Linked DNA regions of Homo sapiens: region 2 is linked to region 1. The links are contacts of gene promoters, found by promoter capture Hi-C in blood cells and fetal thymus (Javierre and others, 2016). All regions are on one chromosome and are shown on one strand. Each heading gives the region's core, a stretch centred on a gene start or on the middle of the fragment in contact. The rest is flanking DNA. Distances are from core to core; before and after follow the strand shown.

Region 1 (2,672 bases), core at 62-2,561:
ATAATTTATTTAATATAGAAATTTTTATTGAAGTGATGACTTCTAAATGTGATTTTTGGGGGCATTATACACTTGCTTCGAGGTTTAATCTTCAATCCACATGGGGGGGCACCATAATCACTGGTGCCCAGGGCCCTCGTCTAGCCCCTGTGAGGCCCTTTGCAGTCCCTCCCTTGCCAGCCCCTCCAGCCTCCGCCATTTGCCCCGTGGGCTCTCCAGGTTCCACTTGAGGAGCTGCCCCCTGCCCCAGCCCAGCTCTACTGCTGTGTGACCTAGCGTAAGTCCCTTAACCGCTGTGTGCCTCAGTTTCCTCATTTGTTAAAAGAGGAGGTTCCAGTGGTAGGTACCCCCTGACGATGTGCAAGCATCACAGAAATGACACAAGACACACACTGAGAACATGCCTCGCGCGTGGCAAGTGCTGACTGTTACCTGCCATTATTAGGCTCCCCCGCCGGGGTCTCAGGGCCTTGGCACAAGCTCTTCCCTCTGCTTGGAGCACTTTCCTCCACTGACCTTTCCTGGCGCTCCAGGTCAACTCCAGGAGCCTTCCCAGTACAGTCTAGGTGCCTTCTCCTTCCGCAGCGCCTGAACCACACAGGAATAAGTAAGGCGAGAGCGCGCCCAGAGAAGAGCAGAGAGTGCAGAAAGGGGCTGAGTTAGTAGAGGCATTTCCGCGGGGATCCTTCTCCTGCCAGGCCTGCACCGGGGCCGTGGCGACTGAGAAGTGCACAGGTGGCTCCCGGGTGCTCCAGAAGGGCCCCAGAGCTCCTGGCCCGGCTAAAGGCAGGAGGCGGGTGCGCGTCTCCCCCGCGAAGCTGGATCAGTACTGGGGGCGCAGGGGGCGCACGCCGCGCAGCGAGGGCTGGCGGGGGCGGCCTGCCTGGGGCGCTGCCCAGGCTCACGCGGGAGCCAGGTGGGGGCGCGGGGAGGAGCAGCTGAGCAGGTGCCGGGAAGGAGGCGCCTGCAGCATGCCATGGCGACCCGCGCACGCGACGGCGGGGCGGCCGGGTGGCACCACTGGCGGGACCGGAAGGGCGCCGCGGCCCTAGGATCTCTGCGCCGAGGCCCGCGGCGGAAGCCACGACGGCCATGACCACGCTGACGCCCAGGCTGCGAGCCCCTCGCCCGGGCCGCCTGCCCACCCGCCACGCCCAGGTAGCACCTCGGGGTCTCCCCACCCGCGACACCGGCCGCAGCCCCGGGCCCCCTCGCAGGCGTGGCCCCCGCTCCCAGGCCCCGCCCCCGCCCCCCCATTGGTCAGTCCCGGGGTGGGGGCGGGCGACGCGGACCGCTGGGCAGGGCAGGGCAGGGACTCGCGGGAACCGCACCAAGCGGGTGGCTGCAGGAGCTCGCCCATCGCCCCTGCGCTGCTCGGACCGCGGCCACAGCCGGACTGGCGGGTACGGCGGCGACAGACGGATTGGCCGAGAGTCCCAGTCCGCAGAGTAGCCCCGGCCTCGAGGCGGTGGCGTCCGCGTCCTCTCGTCCAGGAGCCAGGACAGGTGTCGCGCGGCGGGCGCTCCAGGGACCGCGCTGAGGCCGCGGTCGCCGCCCGTCCCGCCCCGCCCCGCCGCCCGCCGCCCGCCGAGCCCAGCCTCCTTGCCGTCGGGGCGTCCCCAGGCCCTGGGTCGGCCGCGGAGCCGATGCGCGCCCGCTGAGCGCCCCAGCTGAGCGCCCCCGGCCTGCCATGACCGCGCTCCCCGGCCCGCTCTGGCTCCTGGGCCTGGCGCTATGCGCGCTGGGCGGGGGCGGCCCCGGCCTGCGACCCCCGCCCGGCTGTCCCCAGCGACGTCTGGGCGCGCGCGAGCGCCGGGACGTGCAGCGCGAGATCCTGGCGGTGCTCGGGCTGCCTGGGCGGCCCCGGCCCCGCGCGCCACCCGCCGCCTCCCGGCTGCCCGCGTCCGCGCCGCTCTTCATGCTGGACCTGTACCACGCCATGGCCGGCGACGACGACGAGGACGGCGCGCCCGCGGAGCGGCGCCTGGGCCGCGCCGACCTGGTCATGAGCTTCGTTAACATGGGTGAGTGCGGCCGCCCGCGCGGGGACCCTCGGAGTAAGCTGGCTGCAGGGGAGGGGCGCGCATCCGCGGGCTGTGCCGGGCCCTGGCCGAACGGGGAGTCACAGACGGTGGACGCGAACCACAGGGGAGTGGGACCGCCGTGGTTAGGGAAGGTCTAAGGGTCATGGGGGCCCCCTGGGCTGCGGGGTGGTCAGGAGCAGAGTGTGGGGGACTGTGGACTCCCAGGCGCTGCCTTCACCCTGCCCCAAACACACCCAGGAGTAAGAATCAGGTGATGTCTTTGCCCACCTGGGCTGCCCCGGGAAGACAGCCTGGTCCTGGGGAGACAGGTGAGTAAACAGAGGCCGGGATGCTGTCACTGTGATAAGGGCAGTACTGAGGAGAGGGACAAAGTTCAGCGTGGAAACCTGTGGTCACATCGGAGTGACCAGAGCTGAGTCGCGTGCCCTGAGTCCACAGCAGGCTCTTCTCTGTGCGGAGCCTGGGTGGGGTGCGGCTGTCAGGGGGGCGGCTGGGGAAGGAGCAAACTCAGCTCGCTGGGGCAGGGACTGTTGCCTTGTCACCCTGGGCCCAACACCTGGGATGTGATCTGGTATGGGGTGAGTGTCCAGTCCTGTGGAATGGTCCAGTGGGCAGCTGGACCCACTT
Region 2 (2,672 bases), core at 78-2,577, 110 kb after region 1:
AAGAAGTGCTGGACCTGGAGGCAAAGTCCTGGCTGGAGTCCAGAAACCCTGAGCCAGGGAAGCCCTGCACCCAGCCAGCTATTAGCAAGTGACAGGCAAGCCAGAGAGCATGGCCAGAAGCCTGGAAGGGTGGAAAGAACAGTTAAGGATCAAGTTCTCTAATCCTTCCAAAGAAGGATCTGGGGAAAGTTCTTTTTTTTTTTTAAGACAGAGTCTCGCTCTGTCACCCAGGCTGGCACGCAGTGGCACGATGATCTCGGCTCACTGCAACCTCTGCCTCCCGGGTTCAGGCAATTCTCCTGCCTCAGCCTCCTGAGTAGCTGGGATTACAGGCGCACCCCACCACACCCAGTTTTAATTTTTGTATTTTTAGTAGAGATGGAGTTTCACCATGTTGGTCAGGCTGGTCTTGAACTCCTGACCTTGTGATCCACCCACCTCGGCCTCCCAAAGTGCTAGGATTACAGGCATGAGCCACCGCACCCGGCCCGGGGAAAGTTCTTAAAGGGACTGAACCAGGAGTCTGGGCAGGATTCCTTGATGGCAAGGAACAGTGCCTACTCATGGCAGGGTGAGTAAAGGGGAATGGATTAGTTGGGACTTTTGGTTGCAAGTGAACGAAATCCAACTCACACAAGCTTAAGCAAAAAGGGAGGCTTATTGGCTCATGTAATTGGGAAGTTCAGGCATGGCTGGGTCCAGAAACTCAGTTGCATCCTCTCTCCCTCCCTCCTTCTGCTTCTCTCTCTGTGGCACCATTGTCCTTCCAGATGTGCTTCTTCCATGTTCTTTCACCTGCCAAATGGGTTCCCAGCTCACATTGCCCCAAATTAACAACCTCAGAGAAAAAGAGCCAAATCTCCCAGAAGCCCTAAATAAGAGTGAAGAGTGTCTCAGCTGGGGTCACATGCTCATCCTTGTGTCCAGGGACACAGGGCTCCGCCATTGGTCAGGTCTCAGTTACAGGTCTCTGTACCAGGTCTGGTACTTCTTGACCAGAAAACCAGGGAGGCAGGGCTTTTTATTAGAAAGAGAGGCCGGGAAAAGTGGCCACTCAAGCAAAACCACAATCCACCAAATTTCCTTTTGGGGGCATTTGTTGAAACAATGTGGAGAATCTCATGAAAGTGTAGAGATGGGCACCAGAGCCAGGCCTTAGCTAGAACTTGGGAAACTGTCAGGAGCAGAGGCGGCTCCATCTCAGGGCAGCATGGTTTCTCTCATGTGCTGCTCTCTGCACATCCTTTCCCATCTTGATCTGCTGCTCATCTCATTCTGCTCAGAGAGTCTCCACCTGCGCCGAGCTTTACTTTGCATATAACTGCAGTCTGCTGAGGCTCACCCAGGTCTCTTCGGAGCCAACTGTATTTCACAGCATCCTCAGCTTCTATTCCAATGGTTGACTGCCCAGCCCATTTCCCAATTCCAAATTCCTGAGAAAGACAAATCTGCTTGGCCCAGGTCATCTTTTCAAGCCAATCACACAGATTAAAGGCCGCTGGACAGCATGGGGGTGGCTCACTTTTGTGTGAAGTGCCCACCTCCATCCAAGTAACCACTCTATGTATTCTTCCTGAGTTACTTCATCATTCTTCTCCATGAGGCACCTGAGAATAATTGACCTCATTCCTAGAGTTTCAATTATTTATTGCAGTGTAACAAGCTACCCCAAAACTTGGTGCCTGAAACAACAATTTATTATTTTTGATGATTCTGTGAGTTGGCTGGGCTCAGCTGGAAGGTTTTACTGCTTCAGGTTGTGTTGGCTGGCGTCACCCACATAGCTGCACTCCACTGGGAGCTGAGCTGGGGCTGGGACAGCCAGGATGGCCTCATTCACATGTCTGTCAATTGTGCCTATAGTCACCTGGGCTGTCGCTAGCTTCTTATCCTCCAGGTCCTATCTGTCTCACTACGTGGCCTTTCCAGCAGGATAGTCCAGACTTATTTACATAGTAGCTGGCTCCCAAGAGGGCAAAAATGGAATCTGCAAGGCCTCTTAAGACGTAAGCTTGGAAACCACAGAGCACCACTTCTACTCCATTCAATTGGTCAAAGCAAGTCACAGGGCCAGCTCAGACTGGACTCCACCTCTGAATGGGAGGAATGTCAAAGTCACATTTCCAAAGGACAGGCAGGATGGAAGAGGTTTTTGGGCCATCTCTGGAAACAATCTTCTAGAAGTAAGTCTAAACACACTTCCCCCAATCCTAACATTTTATTATGATTTTTCCCTTCCTCCCACACAAGGGTTGGTTTATTCCTCCCAGGACCTGGTGGAGGCTGAGGGGATCACTCCATTCTGTAGCCCCCTCACCTCCCCAGTCAGAGGCCCTCCTAGCTAAGCCAGTGTTTTCTCCTGCTTCTCCCACCCACCCATGCACACCTCTGAGAGAGGCTGTCTGCTTCCTGGCCTGTACCTTGGGATGGGTGACATTTGTGTCTGCACCCTGAGACTAGTACAGAGCTCTGCATCAAGAGGGACAACACCCTGGAATTCCAGGATGGTAGTTCCGAGGCCCCTCTTCTGCCCTCCCTCTATCCAGCCCCTTCATGGCCTATAACAAATCACCCCAAGCTGGGCAGGTGGGGGCCTAGGAATGCGCGCCCTCTGCTGACCACCAAAGGGCCAGCAAGAATTCGGGTTCAGAGTCCCTGGGAGTCTCTCTGGC

What was found. Contacts are between HindIII fragments. The CHiCAGO score rates a contact against its expected background, and 5 or more counts as called.
Region 2: a contact is called between a fragment that was not itself captured here and the fragment with the promoter of BMP8B in region 1, in 1 of 17 cell types (megakaryocytes). The highest score is 5.7, in megakaryocytes.

The regions. Positions count from the first base shown.
Region 1 is chr1:39,787,504-39,790,175 of GRCh38, reverse strand. It overlaps BMP8B (bone morphogenetic protein 8b), which reads left to right and starts at 1,311. Exons shown (of 7, transcript NM_001720.5): 1 at 1,311-2,024. The coding sequence starts at 1,691. LOC101929536 (a long non-coding RNA gene) reads right to left here and starts at 1,200. Exons shown (of 1, transcript NR_135805.1): 1 at 5-1,200. RefSeq lists an enhancer at 704-1,205 and a silencer at 760-1,359. The HindIII fragment of the contact is 19,151 bases long and covers 1-2,672 here.
Region 2 is chr1:39,672,774-39,675,445 of GRCh38, reverse strand. No RefSeq gene overlaps it. Among named protein-coding and RNA genes, the nearest start is that of NT5C1A, 2.0 kb to the right of the region's middle. The HindIII fragment of the contact is 1,373 bases long and covers 641-2,013 here.